Regions from separate parts of the Homo sapiens genome. Here regions 1, 3 and 4 are each linked to region 2. The links are contacts of gene promoters, found by promoter capture Hi-C in blood cells and fetal thymus (Javierre and others, 2016). All regions are on one chromosome and are shown on one strand. Each heading gives the region's core, a stretch centred on a gene start or on the middle of the fragment in contact. The rest is flanking DNA. Distances are from core to core; before and after follow the strand shown.

What was found. The method cuts DNA at HindIII sites, captures the fragments that hold promoters and counts their contacts. A CHiCAGO score of 5 or more calls a contact.
Region 1: a fragment that was not itself captured here is called in contact with the fragment with the promoter of AEN in region 2 in 4 of 17 cell types (total B cells, non-activated CD4 T cells, total CD8 T cells and 1 more); the score reaches 8.8 in total B cells.
Region 3: a fragment that was not itself captured here is called in contact with the fragment with the promoter of AEN in region 2 in 1 of 17 cell types (total B cells); the score reaches 7.4 in total B cells.
Region 4: a contact is called between a fragment that was not itself captured here and the fragment with the promoter of AEN in region 2, in 2 of 17 cell types (activated CD4 T cells and monocytes). The highest score is 6.6, in activated CD4 T cells.

The regions. Positions count from the first base shown.
Region 1 is chr15:89,148,621-89,152,234 of GRCh38, reverse strand. ABHD2 (abhydrolase domain containing 2, acylglycerol lipase) reads right to left here. Exons shown (of 11, transcript NM_152924.5): 4 at 383-558. Among named protein-coding and RNA genes, the nearest start is that of ABHD2, 62 kb to the right of the region's middle. The HindIII fragment of the contact is 176 bases long and covers 1,685-1,860 here.
Region 2 is chr15:88,619,815-88,623,552 of GRCh38, reverse strand. It overlaps AEN (apoptosis enhancing nuclease), which reads right to left and starts at 2,213. Exons shown (of 4, transcript NM_022767.4): 1 at 2,171-2,213. RefSeq lists enhancers at 1-682, 2,169-2,328, 1,658-2,331, 2,332-3,005 and a silencer at 1,959-2,148. The HindIII fragment of the contact is 13,176 bases long and covers 1-3,738 here.
Region 3 is chr15:89,172,624-89,176,222 of GRCh38, reverse strand. It overlaps ABHD2 (abhydrolase domain containing 2, acylglycerol lipase), which reads right to left. Exons shown (of 11, transcript NM_152924.5): 6 at 228-411. Among named protein-coding and RNA genes, the nearest start is that of RLBP1, 47 kb to the left of the region's middle. The HindIII fragment of the contact is 4,890 bases long and covers 1-3,599 here.
Region 4 is chr15:89,248,040-89,251,631 of GRCh38, reverse strand. The region is part of intron 2 of FANCI (FA complementation group I); the gene reads right to left. Among named protein-coding and RNA genes, the nearest start is that of FANCI, 5.9 kb to the right of the region's middle. The HindIII fragment of the contact is 3,959 bases long and covers 362-3,592 here.

The DNA of each region.
Region 1 (3,614 bases), core at 523-3,022, 530 kb before region 2:
GCGTGGTGGCTGGCGCCTGTAGTCCCAGCTACTCGGGAGGCTGAGGCAGGCGAATGGAGTGAACCTGGGAGGCGGAGCTTGCAGTGAGCCGAGATCGTGCCACCGCACTCCAGCCTGGGCGACACAGCGAGACTCCGTCTCAAAAAAAAAAAAAAAACTATTCTACAATGAGTTCTGAAGAGCTTTACATGGTGACTGGCAAACATACGCTGAAGCTAACCTTTGCAGGCTGCTCCTAAGTGACGAATCCCAGCAGGCTTCCCAACAGCCCCTGATGCCATGGGCAGAGTCAGTGGCACAAGTATTCACACTGCTGTGCTCTCCACTGACTAGTGCTCCTTCTCTGAGTGATGGCTCAATCACACAATCTAAAGCAGCTCACCTCCAACACAGTGCTCAGCCAAGGGCTCGAAGAGGTCGAATGTAGAAGTGGCTCCATCAGACATAGTGATGAACTTCCGGTGCCCATAAGGATGTGGCGACCTCACCCTTCCCATCTTCCCATACAAGGCTGTCTGGATGTGTCCACTTTTCCCCCAGATCAACGGTGGAATGTATCTAAAGAAAGGACAAGGGAGGTCAATTTTCTCTACATTCCTTGAGCAACGTTCTGAAAAATCTTTTAGCAAAACTCTTTCAACCTATTTTTGTTCCAGGGAAATTCTGCACACAAAGCATAAACATGAGGCTTTTATTACGTTACATCCGTGCCATGATTTACCGCCTTTCCCCATTTACTAATACACTCTGCATCAGATTAGCTTTAGAAATCAACCAGGACATATATATAAAGAGGATTTCAATTTAGGGTAACTGTTAAGTAATTCAACATGGCTTATTTCCATAATATAGAATAAAAAGAAAGCAAGTGATATATTTTGAACACATTCTAACTTGACAGGTTAGCTCATTATTAAAGGAGCTGATGTATATGAAATAGCATAGCGCCTACACTCACTAAAAGCTCACTTCTTCTTTCCCTAACGAGACAGGCCACAGCTGTAGTGGTTACTCCATTAGCCAAACCTGCTACTCTCAGTTAGTGCTGGGAAGGGCTGCAAATTCTTCTAAGAGCCTGTAAGTGCCTTGTGGGGTGAGGGCACTACTCTATGCTCCAGAGAATATGCTGTAAGGGCAGTGCAGTGTAAATATTTGTTGGATTGATTAAGGATAAAGGCTTGTTAGCCTACGCAAGGCATGAAGCCTCGCTAACAACGGTGCATTGTAAAAACACAGAGTGACTCTAGGCGTTGGTAGGAAATGCAAAAATCACAAATAGTTAATTACCAGGAAAAGAAGATGATCCAAGTTACAACTAAGAAATGATTATGGTTTACAACCACAGTACAAGGTGACTGCATTTACTGAAACCGCTGTTGGTTTCACTTCCATGGCTTTTAGCCCAAGCTTGATGGTTGTCCAGGATTTGTCTCCTATATAAACTGGAGTCGTATAATATAAAATGATAGTGACGTCAATCATTCCCCTCTGTATTATATGGCAGTGGTGAGTGTTTTATTAATAATTTACCTTAACCTACTTGCCTATCATTTCTCTCAGAACCAGATGATCCCCAAAACCCATCTTTGATTTACTCCTTGTATGTGTGTGTAATTAATCAAATCTACACAAAGTTAAGAGAAGTGAAGCTATCACCTTAAGCAAACCAGTTCCCAGACAAGCTTCCTTTTCGGGGGAGGGGAGGAGGGGAAAGAGTATTTTAAGACCTTAAGGACATGAAGCCACTTGCCAGCGTAACACCACAGGTGCAAATATCACTGCAAAAGCCATGGCATTTGGAAGGCAGGCGAAGGCATTTATAAGAGCTGAGTGGATTATGACAGTAACAAAAAGCAAGCTTATAAAAATGTCAATTGGACAACCAAACACTATACAAGATCTAGATACAGAACTTATAAAGGATTTCAGACTACCAAGTTAGATAATAAGTTTTGCATAGAGGAAGAGGACTATCCAAGAAATTAAGCTTTTGATCACTCCTGGAGGAAAGTTTAAAGAAAATTTTGTTTATAAATTAAAAGTGGAAATATGCTGAGCTTAAAAATATCAGAAGAATGAGTAAATTTCATATGCCTACCTTCTGATCATGTTTAGAATACAATATAATCTCAGAAAATAGAACAAAAGAATGAAGTAAAATTTCTTTTTGTCTAGTCACAGATTTCACATTTAATGATGACACATGTGACTGTCCTGATGCCACATTCCCAGTTTAGAGTCAGGTCCCCTCCTCAAAATCTTGGCAGCAGCCCCCCAAGCGGCCTCCAAGCCTCTAGTCTTGCTCTCACCACCTACTCCATCATCCACCCGCCAATGGAGGGGTGATCTCAACACACAAGCCTGGCCCCCACCCTCCACTGCATGGGTCCTCACTTGGCCTAGGAGGCCGGCTACACCCTGGTACTCGCTTAACTTCTTGCCTAAGCTCAAATAAACCTAAACTACCAGGCCCAACTCCAGCCAGAACAGGTACACGTGGTGTTGAACTACTTTTATCTGAGGAGTCTTTGCTCAAGCTGTCTCCTTTGACTGGAATGCTCTTTCACACCCAGCGTTTCTTTGGGCCACCTACTACTTGTCTTTCAAGACTCACTTCCAGTCAGGTTGCTGGGGGGGTTGCCCCTTCTCCATGCACAGCTCCGTCCTAACATCCAGGTGACTTGATTACTTTAGATGCTGTTTTCAAGCCAACCCCTCCTGCTGCTCATTCACCTCTAGCTCTATCCCCAGAGCACTGGACATACATTACACACCTGGGGGAGATTTGCTTCAATGAACAGAATATAGAGACACTTAGTAAATCTAAAAGGACAAATATATGTTTTTAAAATATACAAAAATATATTTAAAAATAATATGTGCCATAATAATGTGAATTCAGCTATTACATGATTGGCGTTAGGCGACTGTCCTCTTTCCAGCCTACCTAACACCCCATTCTCAGAGTGGGGTGCAGTAATTCTCAGTGTGAGTGTGTGTGTGTGTGTGTGTGTGTGTGTTAGGGATCAATTGCCTCACAATCACTTGGGACTTTCTCAGTTCAATGTAAGATCAATTATACACAGTGGAAGTCTCAAAAGGTTTAATTTTATGACAATACCTACTGATAAAACACTGTTTTTAATTAACTTCATAATAATACAACACCAGGGTTTACAAAATTGAATTTTTAGACTGCATTTACTATGGTGGGGTTCAATGTGTAGTTGTTTGTTTATATAACTTATCCACAGACCACAAGAAAAAAATTTAAAAACAAAAAACTGAATAGGTGCCCAGTCACATGGTTTAGGTCAGGAAGGAAATATGGACTAAAACAATAGAATATTTTGAAATTTATATAAACATATAAATACTGAAGAAATGCTGCTAAAATGGTACACGAAGGAATATGCTTTTTCTATCTATGTGGTAGTTCGAAAATGTAGCGGCCAATAATTCCACTTATTCCATTCTTCTGCCGGGAGCTAGATTCCCTCCTTGTGATCTGGACTGGCCTGTGGCTTCTCTGGGCTTACAGAAGGTGGCAGAAGGACTGCCATGCCAATTTAGGCCTGGCCCTTAGGAGATATGGCTGCTTTTGCACTCTCCTC
Region 2 (3,738 bases), core at 964-3,463:
GGCAGGTTAGAGCCTTGATTGTACCTTCCCCAACAGCCAGCCTAGAAGCTAGCATGTGGCAGGTCCTCTTCAGAAGGGTGTAGAAAGAGGTCTGGAGAAGATGAAAACCTGAGCAGTAGCAGCAGAGATTAAGAGAAATGGGAAGGGGATGGGAGGTGAGGTGAAATGCCAGGTTTGATGATGCCAGCATTTGCATAAAGAATCCCCACACTCTAGGGCAGGGCACCGCATCCTGACTTGACTCATCCAGACCTGACCCATCCTGACTCATCCACCCTGCTTGCTCATCCCATCCTTTCCAGGAGAAAAGGTCTCTCTTTTAAAAAGGTCTTAACTGTAACCAACTTCCTCATATTGACAGTCACATCTTAGAACTGACAAATTCAGAACCTTAATCTGCCTCAGCCCAGCAATGGGAGAAAAAAGCCTAAGAAGCCCAATGCCCACCCTGCTAATAACTAATTTGGGAAAGGGGGCTGGCGGATAGTCCCCTCCTTTCTCTGTGAGGGGCTGAGGCTAGGAGTAGGGTGGGTGGCTTTCCTGATCCTACTGGCAAGGTTTTAAAGAAGCCAGAAATTAAGTTATCTGAGAAAAGGTCTCTGTAGCCTCCTATTTCAAGAGAGGAAAGTAGTCCTTTTCCAAACACCCTGACCTTGCTTAAGAGAAGAGAGAAAGAGACCTCCCCCTCATATTGTTCTGTATTATTTTATACTCAGTACCTGTTTTAAGAAGAAACAAGGAAGCAAAACCAAAGGCAGGCAGCCCGGCGCCACGCACCAGACCCAAAACCAGACCCAAAACCAGGCCTGGGCCTGCCTGACCTTAGCCTGATAGTTAAAATTAAACCCATGACCTAGCAACCGATGTTATCCATAGATTTCAGACATTGTATAGAAGGACACTGTGAAATCTCTTGTTCTGTTCTGTTCTGTTTCACTCTGACTACCGGTGCATGCAGTCCCTGTCACATACCCCCTAGATTGCTCAATCAATCATGGCCCTTTCTTGTAAAATCTTTAGTGTTGTGAGTCCTTAAAAGGGACAGAAACTGTGCACTCAACAAGCTCGGATTTTGAGATGCTAGTCTGCCGATGCTTCCAGCTGATTAAAAGCCAATTCCTTCACTACCTCTGTGGGGTTTTGTCCGCGGCTCCTCCTGCTACATGCTGACACGTCAAAACCAACAGTCATCAAGGACACACCTCTTTGGGGACCCAAATGTAGCTCAGTGAAGCTGGAGAGAAGTTCCGCTCAGATAAAACAACCCTTTCAACAAGGACAAACACAAGCCTTTCTCTAGCCTGGACCCAGCGCTCTGGGGGTCAGACACCCGGCCTTCAGGCAGGGAGGGGGTCTGGCCTAAAGAAAGGGTCCCAGCTGCAGAGTCAATGGAGCAAAGGCCCCAAAGGAACCAAGAAGTCAGAATCCTCGGTGGCATGAGAGCCACCAACCTGCTGGCTGATCAAGAGGGCAGAGGGCAGTTCTAGACCCTCCTCTGGCACTAAGTAGCTAGATGATCTGGGGCAAGTCACGTCTCTTCACCATCAACCGAGGGCTGTGAATTAGATAAGGGCTTCCCAAATGTAGTTAATTACCATATGACATCTGATGAAAGGCTGATTTTCAGGCCCACTCCCACACCGTCCTAATTGCTATTTTGGGGAAAGGGGCCTGAGAATCTAGATTTTTAAAAAGAGCGCGGACGACCCCTACCCTCAAGCCACAATTCTGATAATCGCCCAAACCTGAAAAAACCTGGCTCGATAAGGTCCCCTGTGCTGCTAAAAAGTCCACGGAACAACGACAACAACTAAAGTCTGCTATCCTGGCACGACCTCCCCGCCGGCTGGCGTTCTCCCAGGCGTGACGCGTGGGAGGCCTGATCTCACCGGGAAGGACTCGGGCGTTGGTCACTTGCTGGCCGCGGCAGCTGGGCCGAGTCCCAACGACCAGCGCCGCCCCCTCTGGCCCTGGACCCCCGAGCAGAGCGAGGGCTGGAGACAGGCGGCGCCCGGCCTGCTTTTCTGCGGGCCGGTAGGGCAGGGTCAGCCCAGTTCAGGCGTCCCCGCCGCAGGCCGGGGCGGAAACAACGCGCGGGGACCTGCGACCCGGGACACGCGGCCTCAGCCCGCCCGACCCCGCCGCCCCGGTGCAGGGTCCTGGATCTCACCTGAAGCCCCGCGTGTCTCTTCCGGTCTGCACGTGGCGTCCGGAAAGCCGGCAGCTCCCACATGCCCGGGCAAGCCCGGCTCCGACTGCCCGCCTATTGGCTCGCTGGACGGCAGCGCCCGCCCAAGACCTCTTCTGATTGGTCGAGCCTGCCTGGCAGCGGGGAGGCGGGCGAGAGCAGAAGGGGAGGGACTCCTGAAGAGGGCGTAACTCGTGCTGCGAGCCGGCCATACTGGCGGGAAATTTTAAAGAGAAGGGAAGGGAGACTGACCTCCTGTCGTCCCTGCCCGGTCCCATCAGTGTTCCCCGGCTCCAATCCACTCCTCTACCTGGGTCGGGATGTGGGCTCCTGTAAGCCTGGTACCACCAAAGGCCGAATGACTTACTGAGTACACCCACATCTGCAGATTGGGAACATCGGCCCTTACCTCCTCGGGTGTTCTGGGATTCAAGGAAATAATATACACAGTAGGCACTAAAGAGAGACTTTGAAAGTCAGGTTTCCTCCGTCAGCGCTGCTTTTTCATTTATTCTTTTGCAACACTTGACTCCTAAGTATTAAGTTCCTACGTGGGCTTGGCAGTGGGATGCACACAATAAACACATAAGCATCCTGAGTTGTTTATCTAACAGCAGGGAAACAGCAAGGTTAACAGAAAATTCAGTGCAACATGAGGCCGGGGCGCGGTGGCTCACGACTGTAATCCCAGCACTTTGGGAGGCCGAGGCAGGTGATCACCTGAAGTCAGGAGTTTGAGACCAGCCTGACCAACATGAAACCCCATCTCTCCAAAAATACAAAAATTAGCCGGGCGTTGACGGGAGCCTGTAATCCCAGCTACTCGGGAGGCTGAGGCAGGAGAATCGCTTGAGCCCAGAAGGCGGAGGTTGCAGTGAGCCGAGATCGCGCCATTGCACTCCATCCAGCCTGGGCACCAAGAGCAAAACTCCGTCTCAAAAAAAAAGAAAGAAAGAAAGAAAGAAAATTCAGTGTAACATGAGTAATAACAAGAACAATAATAAACAGTTCACACGTATTATGTGAGCACGAATGATGTGCCAGGCAAAATACTCAGTTAATTTGTACAATGACCTTACTATTATTTCAGTTTTACAGTTAAGGAAATTGACACTTAAATTAAGGAGAAACACCTAGAATCCAAAGATCCTTACCTAAGCAGTCTGACTTCTCTTAGTTCACATTTTGCAAGCAGAAGTGATTTGGAAACGTACCTGTGATGAGAAATAAGCTAGGAGCTCTTTCTGATGGGAGTACAAATTTGAGGGAAGCAGGACAAGGGATGAGGTCACAAGAGAGATCAATCCTTTTACCCAGGCCCCTGAAGGCTTTGGGGAGGCAGAGGGATTTAAGCCATAGATAGTTTACCAGTGAATCTGCATTTGAAAAAACTTGTTCTGGCTGCAGCATAGAGAGGAATGGATGAGGACTGGAGAAAGGAGTGGGGGAGTGTTTGTGGAAATTTGGAAGATCATGATGTCCAGAGTGGTGTGGAGGATAAAGAGCTCCCCACCTAAGTAGCATTTGAAATGACAGATTCAAATGCTACT
Region 3 (3,599 bases), core at 887-3,386, 550 kb before region 2:
ACAGATCTGACCCCAAAACGCAGCTGCATATCCCAGGCTTAAGGGGTCTGATGGGGCATCTCCAATGTATGATATGCAGACAAAACAAGGTGAGTCCAAGACTCAGAAACTTCTACTCAGTCGGCCACAGTGTTCCCCGGTCTTCACAGAACAGTGTGTTGTGCGTCGGGGCATCTCTATAAATAAGGGCTAACTGAAGGCCCTGATGGAAGGCGGAGATGACTCACCTCAGTGCACTGTACCCCTGGCACACGCTGACGCAGCACAGGACCTTCTCTTGGTTTGCCTGAGTCTCCCCCAAGTATTTGCACACAATGTTACCACCCAGGCTGAAGCCCACGACGACCAGCTGGGTCAGGGGATATGTCTTCTTGATGTAGTTCACCATGGCTCCAAATTCCCACGTGCAGCCTGTGGGCAAAAGGGTGAGATTGCTCAATCATTTCAGGTGCATCCTATCTGGAGAAAATGCAAGCTGGAACGTTACTAAATGGGTGCCAGTATACTAAAAGAGAGAGAAATATATATGTGTATATATACGTGTGTGTGTCGGGGGATGTGTGTGGAGAGAGAGACAGACACTGCTCTTTGGCTATCCAGACAGAAGTTCCCAGATGCCCCTTGGGATAAGAGGAAACAGGGCCTCAGCAGTGCCAAAGCGTGGAGGTACCATGTATCAAATGTACAATGCTTCTTAAAAGGTAGGTCACAAGAACCGTGTCTAGATAATCATGGATATCAAAGCAGATTTCAGGGTGTGCATGAGCACATATGCTCACACACAGACCTAAATAAAAGCTAGGCCAGCCTGGACAAAATGGTGAGACCCCACCTCTACACACTACAGGTGTGTCCTTGTAGTCCCCGCTACTTAGGAGGCTGAGGCAAGAGGATCCCTTGAGCCGGGGAGGCAGAGGCTACAGTGAGCCAAGATCGCATCACTGCACTCCAGCCTGGGTGACAGAGTGAGACCCTGTCTCAAAAAAATAAAATAAGTAAATAAATAAATAAATGCAAGAGCAAAATCCTTTGAGATTAGCTTCCTAGGCTACAAATTGGGATGCTATACCCATGTGTATGATGATTCATGGTGTTAAGAAAAGTAGCAAGTGGATGTTATTTACAGAATCTTCTTGACAGAGTTGGAAAGGAGAGGAAAGATAAACTTCAGTCCAGAGGGACTGCCAGGATGCTCTGTAGGATTAGGGTAAAACGTTCTTGGTGACATAGGGACAGGGTGCCAAGGGAGGCAGGCTCATTCAAAAATACACAGATGAGACCTCTTAACAGAGAGGGTTGTTTGGGCCTCATTTGCCCAGGAGAGATGATCTCAGCTGGTGTCCCCTTGGGAAGTTATTGAAGCCATGTTATGTCTCAGCAGCTTTGCTAAGAGGAGGAGGTGAATGGCCATATTACAAGTGAAGGGATTCATCACATCCTTCTAAGGCCCAACCTCAAACTCTGTAGGGAGCCAATTTAAAATCTAACATGGAAAGATAGGGATGTCGACGCAAAGCACATACAAAATAGACTGGCATGAGAAGAGTACGGATTTACAATGGAAACGGGAGTTGTTGACTTTGGCACCAGCTCAGAGGTTTTGGCATTCTTAATAGAGTTGAACAGCTCCTTCCCTAATCATCAAGCCATGGGGGAAAGTATCTTTTGAGCCTGGGGTAAACTCCCCTTATATCTGTCTTCTTTTGTGGTAGGATGTAGCCTAAGCCAGGCCGGCACAGCCCCATGCAGTTCTTAAGCTGCAGTGTGCATAGAATCACCTGGAGAGGGTGTTAGAAATGACCATTCCTGGGCCTCAACTCCAGAGAAGCTGATTCTGTAAGATGGGGACCAAGCCCAGGAATCTATAGTGACTTTGTTTTTGAGTAGGTAATTCATGCCCATGGTAGAAAATTCAAATGCTGTAAAAGATGGAGTGAAAGGTAAGTTTCCTATATTCTTTTTAAAAATACCAGTGGTAACATACACATTGTTCGGTGGCTCTTTTTTTCCCTTTACAATATGTCTGGCAATATTATGCATCAATACACTTGAAACTGCCCTATTCTTTTTTATTTTTAATGGGGTATAACATACATACAGGAAAATGCACAATCAATGAAATTTTACACATTTATACCCAGGTAAGCATTGCCCAGATGAAGACGCAGAATATTTTTGACACCCCTGGAGGCCTCCTCATGCCTCTTCCCAGACAGTATCCCCTATACTTTTGACTAATAATCATGATCTGGAAATGCTGGGGGCTTAGAAGGAGCTTAAGCAAGAGATGCCTAAAACTAAGGGAAAAACCGGGCCAAGAGCTGCTTCCTCCCAAACAGCAGGACCCAGGCACCAACTTTGAGAAGGCAGCCCGTCTCCCTCTCCAGTGAGATAGTAGAGGATCAAGCTGCTTATTTTTCTCCCTCTTACACTCAGCAGAGGCTGGGGCAGTTTGCAGGCCTTCAATAAAGAGTTGCTGAATTGAGTGGATTCTGATGACAAGGCCTCTGAATGGGCCCTGAGGACAGGGAAGGAACAAAAACCTGGTCCAGAAGGATCCTTGAACTCTTAACTTTGGAATGTGAAATGCCAGACTGTTGTCCCCACCGAAGTCAGATTCATTCAAGTTTCTTTTTGTTCGTTTGTTTTTGAGACAGAGTCTCGCTCTGTCACCCAGGCTGGAGTGCAGTGGCACAATCTTGGCTCACTACAACCTCTGCCTCTCAGGTTCAAGCGATCCTCCTGCCTCAGCCCCCTGAGTAGCTGGGGTTACAGGCATGTGCCACCATGTCCAGCTAATTTTTGTATTTTTAGTAGAGACAGGGTTTTGTCTTGTTGGCCAGTCTGGTCTTGAACTCCTGACCTCAGGTGATCTGCCTGCCTCCGCCTCCCAAAGTGCTGGGATTACAGGCATGAGCCACTGCCCTGGCCAAGTTTCTCTTTTTAAGAAGGTAGCAATGGAAGGAATATTATGCCTCCAGGGAATGCTGGATTTCAAAATGTAGCTGTGATATAAAAAAGGGGATGTGCAAACAAACAGCTGAGAGCACAATGAGCAATTAGCTGATATCAGCTTCTACACCACGCAACAAATAAAAAATTTAGAAATCCCAAAGGAGACATTTGTTCACCTCCCTTGGGCCATAACAGGCACTGAAAACCAGGCCTTAAAGGAGCAGCCTGGCCTCATGGCTAAGTGAAAAGGCCCTGTGGCCAGACTGCTTGGGCCTACCACTTAGTGGCCCCAAATGTTCTCAATTTCTCTTTGATGACAAGTAACCCCCGTATACAGGGAAAATCTTCAGCTTCCAGGCTCCTTTCTGGAGGCTTAGAACCTACAGGAATAGGATGAGGCCTGGGAATGGGAACTTTCAACAAACAGCCCAGACAATTTTTGTAGTGAGGAAACTGTGCAAAATACCGTTACCTTGGGTAAGTTACCAAACTCTCCTAGGTCTGTTTCATCATCTGTAAAATGGAAGTAACAAGAGTAAAGACTTCGTAGAGTTGTTTAGAGATGTGAATAAAGTGATATACATAAACAGCTTAGATCAGGGTCCAGAGCATAATAAGCATTCAATGTTAATGGCTATAACTGA
Region 4 (3,592 bases), core at 1,092-3,591, 630 kb before region 2:
TGCAATCTGTCCCCTAATATTTAAGACTTTTATATCAATATTCGTAAGTTACATTAGTCTATATCCTCTTTTTTCTATGCTATCTTTATGAGGTTTAAGGTTATACCTGATAAAGATAGCATAAAAAAATCAATGTTATATTTGTTTAATTCAATGTTATACTTGCTTCATTCAAAGAACTTGGAAGTTTTCCTTTATTATTTATGCTCTAAAACAATTTATGTAGCATTAGGACTATCTACCTGATCTCTAAAGGTTTGACAGAAGTTTCCTGCCAATCTATCTGGGCCTGGTGTTTTTGTACGAAGTAGTTCCTTCATAACTTTCTCTTTTCTTCTATGGAAACTGGTCTGCTTAAGCTTTCCATCTCAAATTGGCTCAATTTTATTAAACTGTACGTGCCTAAGAAATTATCCATTTCCTCTAGGTTTTCAAATTTATTTGCACAGGAATCTACTGTAGTCTCACAGTATTTTTTGAGATTTTCTCTGTATTAACAGTATTTCTCCCTTGTCATTTCTCATTTTGTGCATGTTTTTACTCCACTGTTTTGATTATTATATTAATTAATGGTGTTTTTTTCCCCCACAAAGAACCAAGATTTTGATTAATTTGATCCACTATTTTTCTGTTCTCTACTTTATTAATTTCCACTTTTATCTTTAGTAGTTTCTTGTGTTTTTTTGTTGTTGTTTACTTTCTCTTTTTTCTAGGTTTTTGAGTTGGGAATTTATTTATTTTCATTATTTCATTTGTATTGATTTCATTATTTCATTTGTTAAACACTTGTTTTTAACATTATTCCATGGATTTTTAACATGTAGTATTTTTGTTATCTGTAATTATTCTTCAAAAATCCTGTAATTTGTTTGTATCTCTTTTCCTCCAAGAGTTATTTAGAAGGTATTTTTTTATTTTTATATATATATATATTTTTATTATACTTTAAGTTCTAGGGTACATGTGCACAACATGCAGGTTTGTTACATATGCGTACATGTGCCATGTTGGTGTGCTGCACCCATTAACTCGTCATTTACATTAGGTGTATCTCCTAATGCTATCCCTCCCCCCTCCCCTCACTCCACAACAGGCCCCGGTGTGTGATGTTCCCATTCCCGTGTCCAAGTGTTCTCACTGTTCAATTCCCACCTATGAGTGAGAACATGTGGGGTTTGGTTTTTTTGTCCTTGCGATAGTTTGCTGAGAATGATGGCTTCCAGCTTCATCCATGTCCCTACAAAGGACATGAACTCATCATTTTTTATGGCTGCATAGTATTCCATGGTGTAGATGTGCCACATTTTCTTAATCCAGTCTATCATTGTTGGACACTTGGGTTGGTTCCAAGTCTTTGCTATTGTGAATAGTGCCGCAATAAACATACGTGTGAATGTGTCTTTATAGCAGCATGATTTACAGTCCTTTGGGTATATACCCAGTAATGGGATCACTGGGTCAAATGGTATTTCTAGTTCTAGATCCCTGAGAAATCGCCACACTGTCTTCCACAATGGTTGAATAGAAGGTATTTTAATTTCCAAGTAAAAGTGTCTTTGCTTTTTGACTTTTAGTTTCGGTTTTCATTTCCAGTTTTATTGCATTGTGATCACAGAGAATAGTTTGTAATAATTCTACCTTATGGGACCTACCCATGTTTTCTTTGTGCTCTAGTATATGACATGTGATTAATTTTTATGAACATTCTATGTGTTTAAGAAGATAATATATTCTTATCAAAGTTCTCTGCATATATTTTAAATATTCTTTATATTTTCCACCTCTTTACAATCTGTGCTTTATTTAGTTATCCTCAGCTCTGTATTCCACTTTACTAATTTTCTCTTTAGCAATGTTTTGTCTACTGTTAAACCACCTACTGAGGTTTTCATTTCAAGAAGTTGTCTTTCATTGTTTTCTAAATCCATCCCTTATTTTGTGAGTTCTATTCCTTCATTTACATCTTCAAATATTTTAAATACTAGGTCAGGCAGAGTGGCTCACACGTGTAATCCCGGCACTGTGGGAGGCTGAGGTGGGTGGATTGCTTGAGCTCAGGAGTTCAAGACCAGCCTGGAAAGCATGGCGAAACCCCATCTCTGCTAAAAATACAAAAATTAGTCGGACATGGTGGCACATGCTTGTACTCCCAGCTACTCAGGAGGCTGAGGTGGGAGGATCGCATGAGCCCAGGAGGTTGAGGCTGCAGTGTGCCGAGATCGCCCCACTGCACTCCAGCCTGTGCAAGGGTGAGATCCCACCTTTAAATAAATAAAGTTAAATACTGTATTAAGTATTTGTGTTAAATAATTAAAGATTTTTTTCAGATTGCTCTAAATCCTTGAATATGAATTTTCCCATTTCTGTTTGAGTCTTTCTTGCCACAGGACTTCTTTATGTGTTTTATAATTTTTTACTCTGAGTTCATCTTCTGTGGGACATTTTATCAAATGAACTGCCTGCATATATTACTGACATGCTTAACAAATTTGTAGAGGATAAAAAGCTGATTAATACGGTCAGCAGAATCATACAAAATGATCTTGATGGAGTAAAACAAGATGAATCTAAAAAAGGTGACAGTTAACAGATATAAAGTTTGTTGTTTTGGTAGTTGTTTTTAGAAACTGGGTCTCACTATGTTGCCTAAGCTGATCTCGAACTCCTGGCCTAAAGGAATCCTCCCAAAGTGCTGGGACTACAGGTGTAAGTCACCATGCCTGGCCTATATATAGTTTTTAACATGGATTCTAAAAGGACTTCAGAGATAAAGGAAACTTAGCAACTTATCAACATATACAAAAATAAATATAAGAGCAATGAGACTACAATATAATGTTGCTGCCAAAAAGCTGATTTTGCATTAATGGAAAAATGAGGGAAATATTAGCATTACTCTATCCTAGAGTCAGAAAACATCTGGAACACTGTCTTCAATTTGACAGTGTTCACGCCTTCAATTTGAGGCATGAAACTTTAAATAAATAATTTAAATGCTAGTTTCAATCAAATCTTGTCTATAGAATGATTCAAGTTACAACTCATGCAACAAGTCATCTCAAAAAATAGCTATAAAGGCAATCTTGGATAATTTCAAAGAAAAAAAAATCAAAGAGCAACACTGCATCAATTCCTAGTTAGTATGTCAGATAACACACACTAAGATGCACCTTCCTTCAATAACTACAACATTAACACAAAGAAATTCCCTTAAAAACATAATACTCATCAATTGACAGAAAAAGGAAAAAAATCCCATGATACTCAATGTCTTTACTTGTTTGTACATATACCTTGAAGAGGGATTCTTTTCCAGGCAGGGACCTGGATAGGATGAGATCACTTATGGAAAAAGGAGCAGTATATCAGCTGAGAAAGAACATTAGGGAGAAGAAACAGCCTAACATATAAGGCAATTACTATCCCATTTTATAATCCTACACTTATAGTGAAAACAGAGGCCCTAATTTTTACTAATAATTTCAAAATATTTTGCCGCTTATAAACTTAATTTCTTTACGGAAAAATACAGAGAAGCATCAAAATGCAAAACTAATGTCTCAATCAGTAACTATAGTCTGGATATTATCAT